Regions from separate parts of the Homo sapiens genome. Here region 1 is linked to region 2. Evidence: promoter capture Hi-C in 16 types of primary human blood cells and fetal thymus (Javierre and others, 2016). All regions are on one chromosome and are shown on one strand. Each heading gives the region's core, a stretch centred on a gene start or on the middle of the fragment in contact. The rest is flanking DNA. Distances are from core to core; before and after follow the strand shown. Region 1 holds the start of ACTR1B (actin related protein 1B). Region 2 holds the start of MGAT4A (alpha-1,3-mannosyl-glycoprotein 4-beta-N-acetylglucosaminyltransferase A).

Region 1 (6,085 bases), core at 3,486-5,985, 1.1 Mb after region 2:
CGAGGCTAGCCCGGGGAACATAGCGAGATCCCTTCTCTACAAAAAAAATTTTTTTTAATTAGCTAGCGTTGCGCGGTGGCCGTATGGTGGCCAATGAGGTTTATCCGAAGCGCGATTATTGCTAATTGAAAACTTTTCGCAATACCCCACCGTGACGACTTGCAATATAGTCGACATCGGCAATTTTTAACAGTCTCTACGGAGACTATTTCAGTAAAAATAAATAAATATGGTGCGCGCCTGTAGTCCCCCCTACTGGCTGGCGCGGGAGGATCGCTTGAGCCCAAGATTTCCAGCCTGAGCGACAGAGCAAGACACCTTACCTAGAAAAAAAGAAAAAATAAATATTTTGGGTGAAATATCCAGGGCCGGCCTCCTTGGAGAGGGCGCTCTCACGAAGGAGCGTGGCCCGAGGTGCTGGGACGCGGGAAAGACGTCTTTCTGGACCGGTGCTGGGACGCGGGAAAGACGTCTTCCTGGACCGGTGAATTTCCAGCTCCACAGACTCCGGCCGCGCGCACACCAGCCCAGCTCCACTTTCTGCCGCCCGCGTCCCCTTTAAGACGGAGCCATGACATCATCCCAGACACTGCGCAGCCTACCTTGGCAACGCCGCGACCACTTTTTTCCGGACGACCTCAATTGGCTGGCCAGCCTCCGGAGGCCCCGCCCCCTTCGCGCAGCCAGCCCCGGGCACCTGCTGTCAATCGGGCCAGGTGGGAGCGATGATTGGCCGCCGGGCCCGCCCTCCAGAAAGCCCCGCGGGGCTCGCGTAGGCTGCAGGCTCGGGGAGGGAGGGCAGCGGCGCCGCGTCGGGAGCCGCCGCCGTCCCGGTCCTCCCGCCCGCCCGCCCATCCGGTGCCTCCTGCAGCCCGCCTGCTGGGCAGGGCCGGCGCGGCCCGGCCATGGAGTCCTACGACATCATCGCCAACCAGCCTGTGGTCATCGACAACGTGAGGCCCGGCAGCCAGGGGGAGGGCGGGCGCCCCGCCCCCGGGGGCGCACGCGGCGGCGCAGGGAGAGACCCCCGCCCGCCTCGGCGCGTCCTCCGCTCACTGCGTGGCCGTCGCCCCCGCCGGGCCGCTGGCTTCGCCCCGGGGGCGCGCGCCCTCTTGGCCTTGTAAGGCCGGCCATGGGGCGAGCCCCCTCGCCCGCGTCGCAGAGCCTCTTCCCCGACCCCTCCCCGAGTCGGGCGGGGAAGTTCAGGAGAGCTTGAGTGACAGCCGGGCGGCCGGGCGGGGACGCGCCCCGGACTCTTCTCAGTTGAGAGTGCGGTTCCTGGGCAGGTTTCCACACCAGTTCCTTTCCGCGTCCTTCGGCCCTGGCTCTGGCTGCCTGGCGGAGGTGGGGTAGCATTTGTCATTTGCACACTGCTGGCTTTATCTTTGGGGCTGCACCCCGAGGCAACAAATGCAGGATGCTCTGTCACCCACATGTCCACCACCATCTGGTTTGCCTTTTGGCTACTTTGACTTTCTCCTTAAATGCTTCCTGTGCTGAGCAAACATTCCACAGCCAGCAGAGCAATGGAGAGTTCATGGCCACTCTTCCCAGTATCAGCAAGCAATTTGGGGTGATCGTTTGGAAGCCTCAGAGGAAAGATGTCATCAGGCTTCCTGTGGCTTTGTCCTTCAGCAGTGGGGCTCGGCTTGCTTTCACCTGCCTTAGGAAGATTTCTGGCTTCCGAGCTCTGATATGGGGAGAAGATAAGGGCTGGGATCTTTGAGTCTGCCCCTAGCTGGGTATGTGCGTCCGGTGTGCGGGCCTTGGAGTTTTTGGTAATGACTCACTTGTGCTCTTTCTGGGATCTGTCTCCCTCCCACATGACCCCGTGGGGTCCCTGAATGACTGTTTTAGAGTACCCATGTGGGTTCCCTGAGTCACAGCAGGGGATGTTTAATAAGGAGGTTAGCACTGAGCTTGGGGACGTGCTGTCACACCAGCAGGACGCTGCAGGAAGGAGCAGGCTACTTCCTTTCTTGACGTGCAAATAACTCGTATAGGCTAATCAACAGGCTTATAAGTTAAAAGGGCTACCGCTCGGCCCCTTGGGGATTCCATCCCCTCCTCTGTAACTTGGAGATGTTTGTTTCTGCTGCAGACTCAGAGGGTTGCGATGAAGAGTGGTGGGACTGAGTTGAGAAGCTTATCCCTTCGCTGGGTGGGAGGTTTCTAATTGCCCCGTTCTTTGGGGGATCCTTAAGTCCAGCTTCCAGGTGGGGGCAGCGATAGGACCAAGTTCTCCTAGTAGTCTCTGGGAAGCCACTTGAGGGAAGCTGCCGGTCATCCCATGCACCCATTGGTCTTCTCCAGCAGGCCCTGTAGGTCGTCCATGTTCCATGCCTTCTGGGTTCTTGGGGGAGAAGGAAGCTGTTGAAAAAAAAAAAAAAAGACCCACACAGAGGGGTTTCTTCTAGCTTTTGGGAGTAGCATGTGCTATGGAATCCTGCTGGAGCCAACCATTAGTTGTGCAGAGGAAGGTGCCCTTCGTGGTTTCTCTATCTCTATATTATTGACATTCTGGGCTAGCTCCTTGTTGGTAGTGCAGGCTCGCCTGTGCATCGTAGGATGTTGAGCAGCATCCTTGGCCTCTGCCCACTAGATGCCAATAGCATCCCCCACTGCATGTCCCCTCTCCCCAGCTGCCAGACATTGCCAAATGTTGCCAGAGCAGGGGGATACAAAATTGCCCCCAATCTTGAACCATAGGTGTACTTGTAAATGATCCTGGCAGGGTCCCTGGCTTCCTCCTTGGCCTGCCTTGACGGGGCAGCCAGCTCTCTCCATTGCGGGGGACTGGCTTCATCTGGTGGTGCATGTGGGCAGCTCAACTTTGTTTTTCCTTGCAGGGTTCGGGGGTGATTAAAGCTGGCTTTGCAGGAGACCAGATTCCCAAATACTGTTTCCCAAACTAGTAAGTGTGGCTCAGGCAGCAGCCTTAGTCCTTTTGTTTACCTTCTGTAAGAACATTGGCCTTCTGTCACAGGGCTCTTTGAAGACAATTTGTGCCCTGACCTGTATGGAAAACACCAAATTTGTGAGGTTGACACTCTTGAGAGAGCACTGAAAGAACAAGACAAGCGTTCTAGGGTTCCCCTTTGTCTTGGGAGTCTCTCGTTTTGGTCTTGTTGAGCCAGCAAGGAGGAAAAGCAACCAGCATTTCCCTGGGGATGGGGTGTGGTAGCAGCAGCAAGAATAAAGGGAGACATCTCCGAGGGGAGCCCTAAACTCGGAGCAGGAAGAGTGAGGAATTAGATGCACAGCCACCCTTTCCTCCCTGGAAGTGTTTTCTGCCGGGCTTGTTTTCAGACTCTAGAAAATGTCTTGTTTCAGTTAAGAGGGGATCCTTTGCCCTGTATGGTACTGGTGGGGGCGGGAATAAGAATTGCAAACCCAGAGAGCCTGGGGTGCCCCTTGCACCCACCACGAGCCCATTGGGAAAGTTGCCCTTAGGGGCACCTCTTCACAAATCCTGGAGGCTTTGGAATGAGTGGCCTAAAGGCAGCGGGCAGCAGGGGATCCTAGGCCCCGAGTGGCAGGCTAGCCCGAGCCCGGCCTGGTCTGGGACAGAGCTAGCATGGTGCGCCCTGTCGAGCTTCAGCATTCCTTTCTGACTGCATGGGTATAATTAGAGGTTCCTTTGCCTTTAGTGGTAGCTCATCAGATCCTATAGTTTCCAAGAACTGAATCTCTGATCCAGAAGCGCTGGCAGTGGGGTAGGGCGCTTGACTGAGTGAGAGCAGGGTGCACAAGGGAGCCCCGACCCAGCTTCCTGGGGTTGTCCTCCCTCAGTCTGTGGATGGTGACGGCAGCCCTGCCCCACCGAAGTCAGGAGCGTGGGCTGAGTCACTGTGGCTGCAGGAAGCCGACCCTCTGCAAGGGCTGGGCCATGGAGGGCTGGGTTCTGGCGCTCAGACATGCAGCTGTCTCTGCTGACCGTGCCTTCTGACCCTGAGCTTCTCGTCCTGCCTAGGCCCCCTCTCTAGCCCCGAACCCCATAGGCCCCAGTTCCAACCTGTGCCCCCCAGCCACATCCTGGTGTTTGGAGGCCAGGTACCCTCTGGGCGACTATGGTTGGATTTCGGTTTTTCTGGACACAAGCTCTGCCATGCTCCCTGCCCACCTTGCTGACGTTATCCGTCCTAACAGTGTCGGGCGGCCGAAGCACATGCGGGTGATGGCTGGAGCCCTGGAGGGGGACCTCTTCATCGGACCAAAAGCAGAGGTAACACCGAGGAGCCTGCCTTTCCCTGGGGGTGGGGTCCTCAGTTGCAGGAACATGGCATGTGTTCTTGGGCCTCTGCTGGTGACCTCCCGGGTACCTCCTCCAGGCTCCAGCTGGGAAGTGCTGTGCAGGGGCACCTCCCCCTGAGATGGGGCAGCAGTTCCTCTTCTAGGGAGCATGGGTAGAGCTCATCGTGTCCTGTCTTTTAGAAGCTATTTGGAAGCTACAGAACCAAGAACTGATCAAAAAGTGATATAAGAGTCAGAATCACACACACTTCACGTCTGCTCTAATGAGGGCCATGGGGCCGCCTCTCACAGTGAAGCCGGAGTGTCCCACCAAGGGGCTGCATGGCCTGATCAGACCCTCAGGAGAGCATGTGTGGGTGTGGGGAGAGCAGCAAGCTGAGCTTGGCCAAGGGCAGTTTAGGCGCCTGAGGAGCATTGTGTCGGGTGCCGGGGCGTGGGGCATGCGTGGTTCTGGGCCCAGAAAGGGGAGGCCTGAGCTGGAGGTGCAGAGGGTGGGGGTCTCGCAGATGGGGTCCGTAGGAGCCGAGGTGGTGAGAGGAGCTAAGTGGTGCTAGGTGAGAAGGGGCATGGCTGGGGGGACATCGAAGGGCAGGTGGAGGCAGCATGTCAGTGCAAACAGGGGACTGGTGAGGACCGGCCAAAGGGCTGGGGGGAGAGGCGTAGGTCAGGGGGCACAGGTGGCCCAGGAGGGGCCGTGTTGGGCGGCTGCAAGGTGCCGGCGCTGGCCAGAGGGGAGCTGGCAGAGTGTGAGGAGAATGTGGGGGATGTGCCGGCAGTGAGAATGGGGAAGAAGAGAGCCTGCAGATTGCGGGGCACACTGCCACCCTCTCTGATCCCCCCAGCTGAAGCTAGCTGGGCTCTAAGAGCCTAAGAAGCTGGTGGGCAGGTGAGCCCATGCTGAGTTCAGGACCCGCCACAGACCCTGGGACACCCAGTGAGCAGGGGTGGTTCTGGTCAGGGCAGGTGAGGTTCTGGTCAGGGCAGGTGAGGGTCAGCTTCCAGGAGGGCGGAAAGCAGCCGCTGAGCAAGGGCCGGGTGCCACACCTCCCTTCCCACCCCACCAGGAGCACCGGGGGCTGCTGACCATCCGCTACCCCATGGAGCACGGCGTGGTGCGAGACTGGAACGACATGGAACGCATCTGGCAGTACGTCTACTCCAAGGATCAGCTGCAGACCTTCTCGGAGGAGGTGTGGCGGCTGCCCCTCCTGCATGCTCTGCATTCTCCTGGCCATGCCCCTCTCCTCTGCGTCCCTCCTCGCCGGGCTCCCACATTTCCCTTCTACATTTCTAGAGGGCCTGCTGCCTTTCCGTGTGTGTCTGGGTGCGCATACGTACCCAGTGGCTGCTAGGCAGAATCTTCCAAAGAGAGCCGGATCTCCGGAAGAGTAACTGCCAGCAGATAAAGGGATGGGGCCCTCAGGAGGGGTAGGAGGCTGAGCTGCCTGTGCGCCAGCGGGTGTGGTTCTCTGGAAAGAGCCTTTTAGGGCCTTGCAAGTTGCCTCCTCTGATGCCTACAACTGTCCCGTCCCTCGCAGCATCCTGTGCTCCTCACGGAGGCCCCGCTCAACCCGAGTAAGAACCGGGAGAAGGCGGCAGAGGTGTTCTTTGAGACCTTCAACGTGCCGGCCCTGTTCATCTCCATGCAGGCTGTGCTCAGTCTGTGAGTGCTCCCTAAGCCTGGCCTCCCTGAGTCCTGTCCTCCCTGTGCCGTCCTGCTTGCCATGACCAGGGTCTGACTTCCCTGGAAAAACAGCCCCTTGATGACTGTTCCTCTAGGGAGTCCCTCGTGTCCTCTCTTCAGACTAGATAATGCAGATGTGCCAGGGTT
Region 2 (5,875 bases), core at 3,137-5,636:
CATCTCAAAATAAAATAAAATAAGATAAAATAAAATAAAATAAAATAAAATAAAATAAAATAAAATAAAAATAAAATAAAAAGCCAGGGAGAACCTCCTGATGTGATTCCTCTAGCAGGCTTTACACTGGGTCGGGGAAAGAATCTCACTAGAGCTAGTAGCCAAGAAGCCAGAAAACACAATCTTTATAAATATTCATAAATAATGCAAGCTTGATTGTTAATGCATGGAGGGGGCTGGGGTAGAAAAGAAAACTAGAGATTATGTGCTTGAATTCTTAGAAGCTGACTGCTATAGGCATGGCCCCACCAACAGCCATTTACCATCAAAGAGATAAAAGGAAAAGATTCACTCCCTGTGTGTACTCTGCTTTTAGCTCAGATATCACTTCCAGGAAGGCTTCCTTGCCCCCAGATGGCTTAATCCTATCGGCTGTCCCAGAACTGTGCGTTTGTAGCATTGTACTATGGTTTAATTACTTACCCATTTCTTCTACTGTGAGCACTTTGTGGTTAGATAACAGCTGCCTCTGTAATCATAGGCACTCAGAAAAAGTTTGTGGAACAGCAAAAATGTGTGTGGAAAGGAAAACAGCCTCAACATAGAAGCTTTGTTGGGGACAGACTACAAAATAAATGGTAAAGTTCTGGCAGAACCTCTTGGGTACAATTCCACTGAGAAATAAAGGCAGAAACAGAAACTGTAGAAGTAGAGAATAAATAAAAAGGAAGTGATAGAGGAGGAGAATCATCATCAACAATATTAAAAAGAGAAAAAGATATGGAATGGGATTCAGTGGGGTTTGGATGGATTGTCTTTGATTATTAACAGATACTATGGACTTAGTTGGAAAATCCAGGATCATAAACTCTGCTAAGTTAACATGAATCATCAACCAATTATACCCTATACCTTGGAATAATATATTCTATGGCATTCCAGTTTCTTGGGACAACTCACTGAAATCCAGACTTTCCTGAGCTACAATGTATATGGTTTGAGATAAGTGTAACCCTATTTTCCAAAACCTGCCCTTCTGCTGCCAGTTGAAGCAGCAACGAAGTATCAAAAAAGCCTCCAAGTGAAAGCAGTTGTGTTTTTCCTGTACACTTTTTGTCTTCTGCTGTGCTTCCTCCACTACCCAGAGTGCAGGGGAAATTCCGCTTTTTATCTGAATAAGCCGGTGGAGTCTATAACTGAAGTTTGTCCTTCCCCCTATTCCTTTCTCCTCTGACATATGCCTCTGCTTATAGAATGTCTGTAAATGCTTTCATTTCCTTCCTTCACTAAGAGAAAAAACTGGAGAAGGTGAAGAGAAACATCTTTTTTTTTTTTTTGATGGAGTTTCACTCTTGTTGCCCAGGCTGGAGTGCAATGGCGCGATCTTGGCTCACTGTGACCTCTGCCTCCTGAGTTCAAGCGATTCTCCTGCCTCAGCCTCCCAAGTAGCTGGGATTATAGGCACGCACAACCATGCCCAGCTAATTTTTGTATTTTTAATAGAGACAGGGTTTCACACTGTTGGTCAGACTGGTCTTGAACTCCTGAACCTCAGGTGATCTGCCCGCCTCAGCCTCCCAAAGTGCTGGGATTACAGGAGTGAGCCACCACACCTGGCTTTTTTTTTTCTTTCTTTTGAGAGAGAGAGAGAGAGAGAGAGAGAGAGAGAGAGAGAGAGAGAGACAGGGTCTCACTCTGTCACCCAGGCTGTAGTGCAGTGGCATGATCATATTTCATTGCAGCCTGGAACTCCTGGGCTCAAATGATCCTCATGCCTCAGCCTTCCCAGTAGCTGGGACTACTGATGCATGCACACCAGGCTAATTTTTAATTTTTATTTTTTTAAAGACATGGGTCTCTCTCTGTTTCCCCGGCCGGTCTCGAACTCCTGGGCTCAAGCAATCCTCCTACCTCTGCCTCCCAAAGTGCTGGGATTATGGGCATGAGCCACTGTGCCCAGCTGGGAAATATATGTAAAAATATTCATCCACTCAACAAAATTTTGTAACTTGCTGAAGATGTGAGCAGAGAGATAGTCTGGAGGGGTGATGTAGGGGCTCTGGAATCAAACAGACCTGGATTTGAACTCTGATTCAAACATTTACTAATTGCCTAAATTACTGTTTGTATCTGTCAAATGTCTTAATTTCTCAGGGCCTCAGTTTCTTCGTGAATAAAATAGGGATAATAGCTCCTGTTCCATTTGGTCTTTTGGGTAATTCATGAAAATGGCTTGGGGGCATTCTCCATGATGTTATCAAATGGCAGGACTTTCTTCCTCTGCAAGAAGTAGTTTGCTTGTCTGTCATTAAGAGCACTGTAATAGCAAAGCCTAGAATCATCTATTCCTAGGAGATATTTTAGGCAGGATATATCCAACAATGTATTAAAAGCTTTACCTTGGAATGGTCTCAGTCTTTACCTCTGTTTACATCTGGTCATGAATCAAATTGCCAGCTTGCTACTTGGCAATGGCTTTGTCATAGAATACAGGAAACCTGGCTTTCAGGTCCCCAATGTATTCGTCCGTTTTCATGCTGCTGATAAAGACATACCCAAGACTGGGCAACGGACAAAAGAGGTTCAATGGAGTTACAGTTCCACATGGCAGGGGAGGCCTCACAATCATGGTGGAAGGCAAGGAGGAGCAAGTCACTTCTTACATGGATGGTGGCAGGCAAAGAGAGTTTGTGCAGCAAAACTCCCTTTTTTAAAACCATCAGATTTCGTGAGACTTATTCACTATCACGAGAACAGCATGGGAAAGACCCTCCCCCATGATTCAATTACCTCCCACCAGGTTCCTCCCACCACACAGGAATTGTGGGATTTACAATTCAAGATGATATTTGGGTGGGGACACAGCCAAACCGGAAGTAGAGAGAAAACACACTCAAAGTAGAGGGAAGAGCTGTCATTGGATATCATGGCTGTGATCCCCCAAGTTGTGTCCACAGTGCTGGGCAGTGGACAGATCTTTTGGTATGGTTCCCCTAAACTAGTAAGAGACTATGGGAGCAGGGATGTTACGTGTCTCTTCCTGAAGTTTTAAATTAGCCGTCATGGAGAAACCTCAACATGGGAAGGCTGATAACTCCATGCATGTTCTAGCTGATTATTAATTATTCTTATCTTGAGATAAAAATAATGGAATTTATCGGAGGTGGGGAGGGGACCCTGTTCTGATTGATGCCTCTTAAGAGTTTTCGATTATTGAAATTACTGTTTTCTGAAAAGAATCTACTTATTACTTTGGGAGTTTGGCAGGAACAAGGCTGCCTCCTTGATCTTTGGCCCCTCAATTCCCTTACAGGTTACTCGGTAGGATTGCTGTAAGGATTATTGCGGCAATAAAGTTAACACATCCCTTGTTTTTGAACCATTACCAGCTGTGTGACCTTGGGCAAGCCCTTTCACCTCTCAGCTAGTTTCCTCTTATGAAAAATGGGGAATAAATTTAAAACATGAGATATGCAATAAACGATCTAACACCCATGCCTGCTATACGGTTGCCTGCTATACAGTTAAGTATTCAAAAGAGGACGTACCCAGGGGTAGTTACTGTTAGCACAAGTCCTATGGATACTATGAAAAACAGGGACAGACCACCCAGGCTTTCTACAAACGAGTCAGTTTTTTGCCTTTGAAGTTAACCTCTAACCTTGTGAAACGGCGACAGATAAGGACATGGGGTTCAAGAAAACGGGGCATAGTGGAAAATCAGGGGCATTAGCACCCAACGATGTGCGTTGAAACCCTAGTTGTTTTTCTCCTTCCCAGTTGCTGAAATCAGCCCTTCTGGCCGATTCGCGGGGTTCTCACCGGGAAGTTGGGGCTGTCGCGACCGTCCGCGGGGCCTCGGGAGCTCCTGTGGGGCTGGGCCCGGGACCTGTCCCCGGGGAGGCCGCCCAGTTTGGGCGGCCCGGAGCGGGGCGCGCCGCTGGGAAGGGGCCGGGTCGAGGCAGGCAGGCGCCTGGGAGCTGGGGCAGCCCCGGGTGGTCGGGTCGCGCGCCGAGGCGCAGGCCGAGGGCTCGCCCGGGCCTTTGTTGGCCGCCGGAGCGGTCCCTGCACGCGCCGGGAGGATCTCAGCCAGATGTGGCAGCGGGGCGGCGGGGAGCAGGCCGGCGCCCAGAGCTGGGACCCGAGACCGCGGCTCCGCTCCGGACCTCGCCGTGACACCGATGAGCCGGGCCAGCCTCCCGAACGCTCCGCAGGCTGCGTGGCGGCGCCCCTAAGTGACAGTCGCGCGGGCCACTGGTGGGGCGCGGGGCGCGGGGCGCGGGGCCCGCGGGGCCGGCCAATGGCTGGCGGGGTCGGGGCGGCCCGGCGGGGCGGGGCGGGGCGGGCGCTCCAGCGGCGGGGGCGGAGCCGGCGGGGCGGGCGGGGCGGCCCGCAGCGGCGGCGGCAGCGGCGGCGGCGGCTACAGCAGCTCCGCCGGCAGCCGCGGGAGCACGGCGACGCCAGCGGCGGGTGAGGGGCTCGCGGCGGCAGCGGCGGCGCGCGGGGGCGGGAGGGGGCGCGGGGCGGCTGCGCGGAGGGCGCGGGAGTTGGGGGCGGCGCCGGCGGCCGGGCTGGCGGCCCCGGGCTGCGGGAGATCCACCTGCTGGTAAAGGAGCCTACTGCGCCGCGGCCCGGCCGGAGCTCTGTGCGGGGGAGCTGTTGGCGCCTCTGGGCGCGGGGCCGGCTCCGGGAGCGGCTGGGCCTCGGGGGCGGGCGGCGGGGCGCGGGCCGGGCCGTCCTCCCAGCGTCCCTGCCCCGCACCGCGCACCCCTCGGGGTCGCGCGCCCTCTCTGCGGCCGGCTCGGCGCCTGGTGCGTTCCTGGCGCTCCCCGGCGTGGCGGGGCTCGGCGACTTTGGGGGAAAGTGGAGCAAAGTGCTGATCCGGGGGGTGCGGAGGGGGAGGGACAGCTGCCTGTGGGACCCGGGGGCTGCGCGGGAGTCGGCGCTTTCGCGGGGGCCGCGGGGCAGGTGGGCGGGGCCGGACGGTCCGAGGCGCAGGGGCAGGGGCTGCTCCCGAGGGGACCGGCCGTGCAGCCTTCGCAGGGAATTTTCACACAAAGTGAAGGGCTGCGGGGCCCGCGTGAAAGAGCAGCCCCCGTTTCCCCAGGCCTCAGCTCTCTCCGTAATGAGGAAGCTGCAGTAGGACCCTGAGGCTGGGTCTCGGTGACTCCACCAAGTGTGCCAGGTGACATCTCGGAGGCGAGCTTTTCTGAGCTGGCAGTCGAGCCACTTGCACACCCGCCTTTATTCCTCGCAACAGTGTGTTTCTCTGGAGCGGTTTCATTGCCTACATTCCGCATTGGAAAATAGAAGCAGGCACAATGTATGCTTTGAATGCTTTCCACGTATTTTGCTGTTGTGCTTTTGCTGTTGGACAGATTATTTGATAAAAGATAATGACAGTCGTTCGTTGGAACGTAGACTGTAAATTTAGAATAAAAATATGCGTTTTGTGGTTTATGTTTCTTTTTCTGAATGTTTAAAAAACAGTTTGATGAACAGGTTATCTTGACATAGATTTCTTTAACCCACACGTGTAAACCCGAAAACGCACTGGGCGATGACATTACGTAAGCTGTATTAAAGAAAACTACTGACCCGTTTATAAATGGCAAATAAATGAATTTTGCCACAATTGTGGTGTGTAAAGTTATATAGGCTTACGTCATGGATTTTATTGATTCCAGATATCAGGGATTATTGTGCCTTTCATTCTTAAGTCACCTCTACCCTGTCTGTGGGATGCTGATTAAGGAAGATGCCAAACGTTCGGCAAAGTGTTCTCAGCCGTGGACTATATTGAGTATTTCAGAGAACACTTTAAAATAAGTAAAGGTTTTGTATCCAATAATAAAATGAAGACTGAAGCCCTTAA

What was found. The method cuts DNA at HindIII sites, captures the fragments that hold promoters and counts their contacts. A CHiCAGO score of 5 or more calls a contact.
Region 1: a fragment that was not itself captured here is called in contact with the fragment with the promoter of MGAT4A in region 2 in 1 of 17 cell types (fetal thymus); the score reaches 5.5 in fetal thymus.

The regions. Positions count from the first base shown.
Region 1 is chr2:97,658,711-97,664,795 of GRCh38, reverse strand. It overlaps ACTR1B (actin related protein 1B), which reads left to right and starts at 752. Exons shown (of 11, transcript NM_005735.4): 1 at 752-953; 2 at 2,850-2,914; 3 at 4,150-4,225; 4 at 5,319-5,444; 5 at 5,793-5,917. The coding sequence starts at 906. It overlaps LOC124900516 (U4 spliceosomal RNA), which reads left to right and starts at 65; the gene lies at 65-205. It also overlaps a transcript of C2orf92 not described here and the pseudogene RNU4-8P. RefSeq lists enhancers at 234-573, 1,614-1,683, 1,649-2,290 and silencers at 654-1,113, 1,194-1,253. The HindIII fragment of the contact is 5,176 bases long and covers 2,148-6,085 here.
Region 2 is chr2:98,729,643-98,735,517 of GRCh38, reverse strand. It overlaps MGAT4A (alpha-1,3-mannosyl-glycoprotein 4-beta-N-acetylglucosaminyltransferase A), which reads left to right and starts at 4,386. Exons shown (of 16, transcript NM_012214.3): 1 at 4,386-4,470. It overlaps LOC107985922 (a long non-coding RNA gene), which reads right to left and starts at 4,237. Exons shown (of 2, transcript XR_007087150.1): 1 at 3,823-4,237. RefSeq lists silencers at 3,438-3,732, 3,839-4,028, 4,049-4,378. The HindIII fragment of the contact is 4,047 bases long and covers 2,396-5,875 here.